2 separate regions of the Homo sapiens genome follow, and region 1 is linked to region 2. The links are contacts of gene promoters, found by promoter capture Hi-C in human tissues and cell types (Jung and others, 2019). All regions are on one chromosome and are shown on one strand. Each heading gives the region's core, a stretch centred on a gene start or on the middle of the fragment in contact. The rest is flanking DNA. Distances are from core to core; before and after follow the strand shown.

Region 1 (5,233 bases), core at 898-3,397, 620 kb before region 2:
GGAGGCTGAGGCAGGAGAATCCCTTGAACTCAGGGGGCGGAGGTTGCGGTGAGCAGACATCGTACCACTGCACTCCAGCATGGGTGACAGAGCAAGACTCTGGCTCAAAGAAAAAAATAAAGAAAGAAAGAAAAAAGAAAAGATTAGTATCCAGAATAAATACAGAAATCCTGCATAAATAAGACAAAAACAATCCAATGAGGGGAAATGGCAAAATATACGCATAGGCAATTCACAGGGGAAAAATGCAAATGGAACCAATGTATGAAATAATTCTTAGCCTTGCTAGTAATCAAGGAATGTAAATTAAAACGATCACATATCACTTCACTCCCCCAATTGGCAAAAACTGTGAACTCTTAGAGAAGGTAGGATGCACGTACTCTACAACCCAGCAACTCCTCTCCTCATTATTTATGCATCTTAGAAAGCTGCTCCACACATAAGTGAGAAACCACACACAAGGATGCTCACTGAAGAATTGTTTGTAATAGCAAAAAATCAGAAATGACCCACATGTTCATCAACAGGAGAAAGGATACGTTGTTCTAATCATACAATGGAAATGCTTTAAATCAATTAAAGTTAATGAACTGTAGCAACATGTATCAATGTGGATAAACCTCAAAAGCAATGTTGATCCAAAAAACAAGTTGTAGATGATGCATATGTTATATAAGGTTTTCTACAAGGTGTATACCCAAGTATACCGAAGATACAAAAGCATGCATGGAAAGTCTCCAAACCAAGATAATGATTGTATCTAGGGAGGGAAGAAAATGGGGAAGGGACTTCAACTGTGCTTGGAATATTTTACTTAAGTGCCTGCGCACATTCAAGTGTGTGCGTGCGTGCATGTGTGTATCTGAAACAATTACTGCAAAACACTGAAGTCTGACAAAGCTGAGTTCTTGATATGGATGTATCTGTTCTAGTTTTTATACTTTTCTTAAACCATTTCATCACACAAAACTCACTGAAACACTCATGCATTCCTACCCTGCATAGCCAGTGCTCTCCCCAACCTCCCACAGGCGAAGGCTCAGCGGGGAGCAGCAGCTACTGCATCTTACCAGGTTACCGGAGCAGCAGAGGCAGCTCCTCCTACCAGCTGCTGCTCCTCAGCCCCTGAGGACCCTGCAGAACTCGTAAGCACTCCCTACCTGGTCCTGCCCTGCCCCCAGGGAGATGTAGAAGTGGGCATCATGCAGAACAGGCCCTTCCCACAAGGCAGCTCAAGCAGGTGCCTAGGACAAATGGGACCAGGTTCCTGGCCAGGGCCAGGGCATCTCTGTGCCTGGGGGTTAAATGAGTAACCCAGAGAGCCCCAGCCTTCCCTCAGGCACAGGTGGATCTCAGGGAGCAGAGAGAGCAAGGACTTGGAGTTTGGGACATGTAGGTTCAAATCCAGCTCCAGCAAGAAATAATTCTGTGACCCCAGGCAAATTGTTTAGCCTAAGCCTCTGCTTTTACAACTTATTTTATTTTATCTTGGAGACAGTCTTGCTTTGCTCCGTGGCCCAGGCTGGAGTGCAGTGGCACGGTCTTGGCTCACTGCAACCTCCACCTCCCGGGTTCAAGTGATTCTCCTACCTCAGCCTCCCGAGCTTCTACAACTTTAAATCAGGAATAACGCCACCTTCCTTGTAGATGTGTATGCAGTGACCCCAGAGACATCTAAGAGATATTAAGCATAAAAGAATTTTGCTGAGCAGTATATAAAATGTGTTATCTGCGAAAGAAGCCAGTCATAAAAGGCAAATACTTTGATTTCACTTATTCACATAAGTGAATAGACAGAAAACAGAAGGGATACCAGGGCCTGGGGGAGCAGGAAATGGGGAGTGAGCGTTTAATGGGTGCAGAGAGTTTCAGTTTTGCAAGATGAAAACAGTTCTGGAGATGGGTGGTAGTGATGGATACACAATATGAATGTACTTAATACCATTGAAGTGTACACTTACAAATGGTTAAGGTGGTAAATTTTATGTCATGTGTATTTTACCACAATGAAAAAAATTAGGAAATATGATATCTTTTTTTTTTTTTTTTTGAGGTAGAGTCTCACTCTGTTGCCAAGGCTGGAGTACAGTGGTGTGGTCTTGGCTCACTGCAAACTCTACCTCCTGGGTTCAAGCGATTCTCCTGCCTCAGCCTCCCAAGTAGCTGGGACTACAGGTGTGTGCCACCACTCCTGGCTAATTTTTGTATTTTTACTAGAGATGGGGTTTTGCCATGTTGGCCAGGGTGGTCTCAAACTCCTGACCTCAAGTGATTCACCTGCCTTGGTGTCCCAAAGTGCTGGGATTACAGGTGTCAGCCACTGTACCTGGTCTGTTACTGGTATAATTTTTTTTTTTTTGAGATGGAGTCTCACTCTGTTGCCCAGGCTGGAGTGCAGTGGCATGATCTCTGCTCACTGCAAGCTCTGCCTCCCAGGTTCACGCCATTCTCCTGCCTCAGCCTCCCAAGTAGCTGGGACTATAGGCACCCACCACAATGCCCGGCAAATTTTTTTGTATTTTTAGTACAGACGGGGTTTCATCGTGTTAACCAGGATGATCTCGATCTACTGACCTTGTGATCTGCCTGCCTCAGCCTCCCAAAGTGCTGGGATTACAGGTGTGAGCCACCATGCCTGGCAATTTTTTAAAACAAGAATGATGGCTGGGCACGGTGGCTCACGCCTGTAATCCTAGCACTTTGGGAGGCCGAGGTGGGTGGATTACTTGAGGTCAGGAGTTTGAGACCAGCCTGGCCAACATGGCGAAACCCCGTCTCTACTAAAAATACAAAAAAATTAGCTGGGCGTGGTAGCACACAACTGTAGTCCCAGCTACTCAGCAGGCTGAGGCAGGAGAATCACTTGAACCCGGGAGGCGCAGGTTGCAGTGGGCCGAATCTGTGCTGCTGTACTCCTGCCTGGGTGACAGAGTGAGACTCTGTCTCAAAAAATAAAATTATATCAATAACAAACTCATTACTGTGTACAGAAAAGAATTTAGAAAGCTATGCACAGAACTATATATAGTTAAGTCTACTCGTGGTGAGACTGTAGAGGGCTGTCTATATTATACATTCTTCCATTATTTAAATCTGGTATGTTTATGAGTAGAAAAACTGCTTGGAAATAAATCAAAAGACCTTCCTCACTGTGTGGTTTCTCAGGATGATAAAAGAATTTATGCGTAGCTGCCATCCGTACATTAGAAACAGGTCAGCCTCATCCTCCCTGCCCTGCCTCGTAACACTCACGCTCAGCAGCTTGCGGTCCTCACCTCCTGGGAGCAGAGCAGGGAGGAGTTCAGACCCCAGAGTTGGGCAACTCAAACGCCAACCCCACTACTGCCTCACTGGGGCCTCAGAGCCTCTGTGTCCTCAACTGCAAGATGGAAATATTACATCCTAAAATGGGTTATAGCTGTGAAATGGGTTATCGTGAGAATTAAAAGTAAGGCATCATGTGTCAATACAGCACCGGGCACACTCAGGCTGTCGTTCCACGGTCCCACCTGCCATCGCAGATGACCCTCCCAGAATTCAGTGGGGACTGACCTGGGTGAGGGCGGAGCCTCAAGCACCATGTCTCTGAGCAGGGCCAGACCACTCAGAGACCCACAGGACCCCCCAGGACTCGCAGAACCTCGAAAACTCGCAGACCACTCAGAGACCCTCCCAGGCTCAGGACCCCGTGTGGCAGAGTTGGCCATCTGCTCTCAGAGCCAGTCATTAGGTTCAGCCCCAGTCCACATCCCCTGGATGCTTCTCGAAGACAGGGAGTCAAGAAATGACAAGCTGCCCACTCTGTCCCAGAGAGAGACCCCCCCAGCACGCACCAGACCCCATGTGGGCCCACAGGGATTTGGCGTGGCTCCCACACCTGGGCGGCAGGCAGTCGGGCTGCGGGTAAACAGGGCACAGAGAGCCTTTTGTGAAAGCACAAACAAGGCTGAGCCAGGAAAACTTCCCAAGCAGGAGGGGAGGCGGGAGGTTGGCACCCCTCCTGTACCAGAGATGGGAAGGCTGGCCCTCCAGTGCTCTCCCAGGGAGCGCGAAGGGGCCGCTCTCAACAGGCCCTGTCCCGGGAGGGTTCCAAGCCTGTGGATCTGCTCCCACCACGGGCCATGGGTCATGTGCTTCCCCTGTCCCAGAGCCAGAGTGGGAGGAGAGGTCTCAGCCTCGTCTGGCACACACAGCCTCCACCCTCCCCAGGGCGGACACTGCCCTGGAGGCCCCCACACCCAGCTGGGGTGAGTCAGAGGCTGCTGGCTGGGGGTGTTGCCTGGCTTGGGACTCGCCCTGTGTAGAAGGGTACACCCTCACTTCCTGGGGAGAGGAAGAGGGGAGACGCCAGGGCTGGAGGGGGAGGGGAGCACGGGTCAGTTCCAAACTGCTCTCACCTGGGCTGGGCTCCCAAACAGGTTCATCCTCACACCAACTTGCAAGGGCGTGGCCCGCCTTCTAGGGTGAAAGGCAACAGGTGAGGGACACCCACCTGGGCTTCCCCCAGCAGCTCCGGAGCCAAGCAGAGAGAGGCAGCAGGTGGGGCTGGAGGTGCAGCCTCAGGACCTGCCCTCGCCCTGCCAGGCTGGGGCAGGAGCGCCCAGTTACTGACCGTCAACTAAGTGCCCAGTATGTCCTTGCCCCATCTCCCAACCTTCATGCATAGCAGCAAGGTGGCACCCACCTCACCACGAGACCGTGAGAAAGTCCCTTCACCTCGCTGGGCTCTGGTTTCCTCATCTGTAAAATGGGTTGACAAGTCTATTGCTTGGAGGGCTGTGATGAGGACAGAAGGAGACAGTCCATATAAAGCTTTTGGACTAGTGCCTGCCATACAGTAAGGCTCTGGAACGTTCACTGCTGTTATTATTATGGTAGAGTTTAAATCAGTCCTTTTATGGGTGTGATGTCGGAGGCCCAGAGAAGTTTGGTAACCTGCCCAAGGCCACACAGCTAGGAAGAGCTGGGAAGATGCACCCCAAGCCCGACTTTCCATTGTGCCAACCTGCCTCAAAGACAAGCAGGCCTCCCGGACCCACCTGGGACCCAGGCCCTTGAAGATACTTCTTGAGACAAGATACTCTTTTCCTTAGGGGGTACATGGAAACCAGGGCTCTACAGGGAACCCCATCAGGCCATACTCAGATGCCTCTGGTCTCACGGGTACTGCTATAAGGAAGCTCTGGAAGGGAGCCTAGCCCTGGGTTTAGGGCCAGAAGGCAGTGTTGGG
Region 2 (4,805 bases), core at 2,142-4,641:
AATATCAGCGTGCCCAGCCATTCTGGGCCACTACCGGTCTCCACGTCTTGGTGGTAGTGGTCCCCTGGGCCCAGCGGTTTTCTCTTTATCTCTTTGTCTTGTGTCTTTATTTCTTACAATCTCTTGTCTCCGCACATGGGGAGAACGCCCACCAAGCCCCGTAGGGCTGGATCCTACAGAAATGCCCACATTTACCTCAGGAGTGGCAGGAAGCAAAGGAGCCAGCCGAGCGGGCACAGAAAAAGAGGCAGGAGAGGTCAGGAGGGTGCTCCTGCAAATAGGCCCAGAGAGGAGCAAGCCCAAGGTACCGCTTAAGAGTTCAGTTCAAGCCCAGGCACGGTGGCTCATGCCTGTAATCCCAGCACTTTGGGAGGCTGAGGCGGGTGGATCACTGAGGTCAGGAGTTTGAGACCAGCCTGGCCAACATGGCAAAACCGTCTCTACTAAAAATATAAAAATTAGCCGGGCATGGTGGCGGGCACCTGTAATCCCAGCTACTAGGGAGGCTGAGGCTGGAGAATCACTTGAACCTGGGAGGCAGAGGTTGCAGTGAGCCAAGATCGTGTCATTGCATTCCAGCCTGGGCGACAGAGCAAGATTCCGTCTCAAATAAAAAAAAACAAAAAAAACCAAAAACAACTCAGTTTCTCAGTTTAAAGCCCCCAGCTCTGCCACGTCCTGGCTATATTCATCTCTCTGGAACTCACAGGCCTCACCTCAACATGGGGACAGTAAAGCGTCTTCTCAAAGGTTGCTGGAAGGAACTGGAAAGATGATGCATGTAAAGTAAGCTGATGGGACAATGCTCAATAGAGCCTCCTTTTTTTTTTTTTTGAGATGGAGTTTCGCTCTGTTGCCCAGGCTGGAGTGCAGGGTGATCTCGGCTCACTGCAACCTCCACCCCCTGGGTTCAAGCGATTCTCCTGCCTCAGTCTCCCAAGTAGCTGGGATTACAGGCATGTACCACTATGCTCAGCTAATTTTTGTATTTTTAGTAGAGATGGGGCTTCACCATGTTGGGCAGACTGGTCAAACTCCTGACCTCAGGTGATCCACTCACCTTAGCCTCCCAAAGTGCTGGGATTATAGGCGTGAGTCACTGTGCCGGGTCGAGCGTTGTTTTTAAAAATGGAAGGAATGGAAGCTGGGCATGGTGGCTCATGCCTGTAATCCCAGCACTTTGGGAGGCCGAGGCGGGCAGGTTGCTTTGAGCTCACGAGTTTGAGACCAGCCTGGGCAACATGGCGAAAATTTGTCTCTACTGAAAATACAAAAAAATTAGCCAGGCGTCATGGCACACAACTGTGGTTCCAGCTATTTGGGACGCTGAGGCAAGAGGATGGGTTGGGCCTGGGAGGCAGAGGTTACAGTGAGCCCAGATCGCACCATTGCACTCCAGCCCGGGCGACAGAGTGCGACTGTGTCTCAAAAAAAAAAAAAAAAAAAAAAGAGAAGGAATGAATTAGCATGAATGAGAAAGGCATGATCTGCAGTGAGTTACCGCATGGTCAAAGACAGTGGATACCAACCCACTTGCAGAGAGAAGCTCAATCAGCCCAGTGCTTTTGGCAAACTATGGCTGCCACCCCGTCATCGTCATCTGAGCTCACTGTGAGTTGCCCTTCAGGCCCTGCCTCTGACCCTGCCATCTCTGGAGAGCCCTCTTTGCAAGCCCAAGCCTGGGCTCCCCATCTCAGAACCATGTGCATACTTGTCCTGGAATTATTTTTTTGCCTGTGGCTCCTGGAGGGCAGGGGGCTATCTGGCATACACCTGCATTGCAGCAGTTGCTAAATCAATGAACAAATACCAAGTCTTTCCCGATCTAACTTCTTTTTTGTTTTTGAGACTTGTCTAGCTCTGTTGTCCAGGCTGGAGTGCAGTGGTGCAATCTCGGCTTACTGCAACCTCCACCTTCCGGGTTCAAGCAATTCTCCTGCCTCAGCCTCCTGAGTAGTTGGGATTACAGGCCTGCACCACCACGCTCGGCTGATTTTTTTGTATTTTTAGTAGAGACAGGGTTTCATCATGTTGGGCAGGCTGGTCTTGAACTCCTGACCTCAAATGATCTGCCCGCCTCAGCCTCCCAAAGTGCTGGGATTACAGGTGTGAGCCACTGCACCCGGCCCTCACGATCTACCTTAAGAGTGGTGGTAGTTGTAGTGGCAACTCCATCTGGGGGATGAGAGAAGGAGTAGGCTGCGTTTTGGGGGTGGCTTGCCAGCGAAGAGGAGAGACTATTAGCAACGAAAGGAGTGGCCAGGGTGAACGCCAAGCATTTTCCTGACTGGGGAGCTATGGGTTTGTTTAAAGGCAGGGCTGGGTGAGGGGTGAAAAGAGCGAGGAGGAGAGATGGCTGGTGCTGGACTGGAGTGAAAGGCATCTGAGGAGCCAGGAGACAGGATGGGGAGGGAGAGGAGTTAGCCTAGGACAGGACAGGATAACACTTCTTTGAAGACTGGCGGGCATGAGGAAAGGAAGGGGAGGGATTCGGGAATGACCTGGCGGTTCTCAGTCGACTGGGAGAAGATATGGAAGAGGGCCAAGCGGGGATTGGCTGCTGTTGGGATGGGGAGTGGGGCCGGGAGCGCACAAGGGAAGGTCGAGGATGGGAAAGGGGGTGTGGGGGAAGAAATACTCACAGGGGATCGGAAGGCCCCGCGGCAACTTCGGGTAAGTCTTGGTTCAGTCCTAGAGAGGAATCCGAGGGGAAAGTCTGATTGGACCCACAGCCCGCTGTGAGGACGGGGTACTGTGGGGATGCGGGAGGAGGAGCAGTTGGGAAGTAGGAGCGCCAGGGACTGGATCCATCTGGAAAGGGGGCAGACACGCTCTCAGGATCAGGGTAGAGACCCTCTAGGAAGGGGGCGTTCTGAGACGGGGGTTGTCTGGAGCACTGGATGGGAGTCTTTGGAGGTGATTTCTGGGAAGGGAGAGTCTGGGGCAGGGCTGTGAGGAGTCAGGAAAGAAACTGTGGAGTCCGTTCCTCGCCCACCTCCTGAGCCCTGGGGTCCGAGGCCCCCGGATCAGGGGGTTCAATGGCGCAAGAGGGTCCAGCGCGGGAGTCGGAGAGCGACCTCTCAGGTGCACCGGGCCAGGAACTCTGACCCGGAGTGTGAACTGGCGCACAGAAAGCTGCGCGCGCACCCAAGGAAAGCCGGCCCCGCCCCTCTCCCGAGGTGGGCGGGGACAGCGGTTGCGTGCGCAGCTTTTGTTGTGACGCCACAGGTCCCTCTGGCCACGCCGCTGCATAGCCACGCCCCCTTCCGCTTCATATTTCTCATTGACCAATGGGCTTTGATCTTTGAGGCCACGCCCCCATTCTGCGCTCCAGTATCGCCCTGGTTACGCCTCCTCTGGCTCCGTCGCACAGCTGCGCGGTGGCTGACTGACTTCCGCAGTGGTTGCCGGGATCGCGCTGATGTGGCCCCAACCCCGCCTCCCTCCCCGCCCCGCGATGTCGGAAGAAACCCGACAGAGCAAATTGGCCGCAGCGAAGAAAAAGGTAAAGTGCACCGGGTCGCGGCCCCCCGACCCAGCCCCAGCCCCACTCCGATGGCAGGACCATGGCCAGAGTCTCTGCCACTCCTGAGGCACACCGGGCTGGGCTCCCCACGGCGCGTCCGGGCTCCCTCCACCAAAGTCTTGTCAGCCAGCCCCGCCCCCTCAGCCGCCCAGCCCCCGCCCTCGCCAGTCGCCCCCGGGTGACTTTGGGCTGGTGCTCCCGGGGCTCCCCGCTCCAGACTCGGCCCTCACCTCCTGCCCCCCGAAGTCCGACCTCCCTGGGCTCTTTGGGCTGGCGTCTCCAAGGACCTAGGACCCCAGCAATTCAGCCCCTGCCCTCGCCAGTGACTTTGGGCCCGTGACTCCCGGGGCCCCCCGCTCCAGACTCGACCCTCACCTCCTGCCGCCCCAAACCGGACCTCCCGGGGTTCTTTGGTCTCGGGTCTCCAAGGACCTGGGTCCTGGCCCTGCGGTCCCCTCCCCCATCGCGGAGCGGCGACTTGGACGTCGCGCTGATGTTCCCCCTAGGAGTGGAATGTAGTGACGTCACAATCCCCCTCGGAACCGTAATTAGTTGCGCGAGACCAGTCTTTGATCTTAGGACCCAGTCCCCTAAGTGTTCTCATCCCGCTTCTGGTTCCTCTGGTCACAGCATAAATTTCCAGCTGGAAGGGGATTGGGGACTATGGGACCTAGGAGGGAGAGGTTTCAGGCTGCCTTACACCCTTAACATAGACATTGACAGTGTGAAAAGCCTACACTTCACCCGTGAACTGAAAACATTGGCAGTATCTCTGGGTGGCAATGTGAGAACGGGATTGGTTTGGTTTTCCCCCAGGCTTCTACTCTCCAGAGAGACTTTAACATTTTTTTCTGACTTCTCCACCTCATATTCGAATTCTCCATGGTTCTGGGACCAGAGTGCCCTTCAGTGGTCTCTGGAATGAGATCTGCTTATCTTCTGTGGAACAGGTCTTGGGAAACTGAACTTGACAGCTTGAATCTTCCTCATATCATCTCAACCTGGGGTACTTGGAGTGCCACAGGATAAATACGGGGCATCTTTCTGAAGCATCAGTCTCCCTTTATTCTCTTGAGAGAGAAAAAACATTAATGTACTTAGGGATGACAGTCACATAAATTTCTAAGAGTATACCAGACTTTTCTCTGAAATGAGGCTTGGGTTGTCCTCTTTCTGTTAAATTCCCAGGTTCAACAGAAAGGCTGCCTTCTGCCATGTGGATACATTGATGTAAAAGTTTGAGAGGCATTGGTGCATTTCTTAACATTACCAAACGTGT

What was found. The method cuts DNA at HindIII sites, captures the fragments that hold promoters and counts their contacts. A contact is called where the count stands out against the background at its distance.
Region 1: a contact is called between a fragment that was not itself captured here and the fragment with the promoter of GOLGA2 in region 2, in 1 of the 25 tissues and cell types used here (dorsolateral prefrontal cortex).

The regions. Positions count from the first base shown.
Region 1 is chr9:128,891,613-128,896,845 of GRCh38, reverse strand. All of the region lies in intron 2 of LRRC8A (leucine rich repeat containing 8 VRAC subunit A), which reads right to left. Among named protein-coding and RNA genes, the nearest start is that of LRRC8A, 12 kb to the right of the region's middle. RefSeq lists an enhancer at 3,995-4,602. The HindIII fragment of the contact is 8,143 bases long and covers 1-5,233 here.
Region 2 is chr9:128,274,593-128,279,397 of GRCh38, reverse strand. GOLGA2 (golgin A2) reads left to right here and starts at 3,391. Exons shown (of 27, transcript NM_001366244.2): 1 at 3,391-3,505. The coding sequence starts at 3,422. It overlaps SWI5 (SWI5 homologous recombination repair protein), which reads right to left and starts at 3,122. Exons shown (of 5, transcript NM_001318089.2): 1 at 2,996-3,122; 2 at 2,643-2,691. The coding sequence starts at 3,057. RefSeq lists enhancers at 2,888-3,017, 3,878-3,927 and a silencer at 3,618-3,727. The HindIII fragment of the contact is 26,420 bases long and covers 1-4,805 here.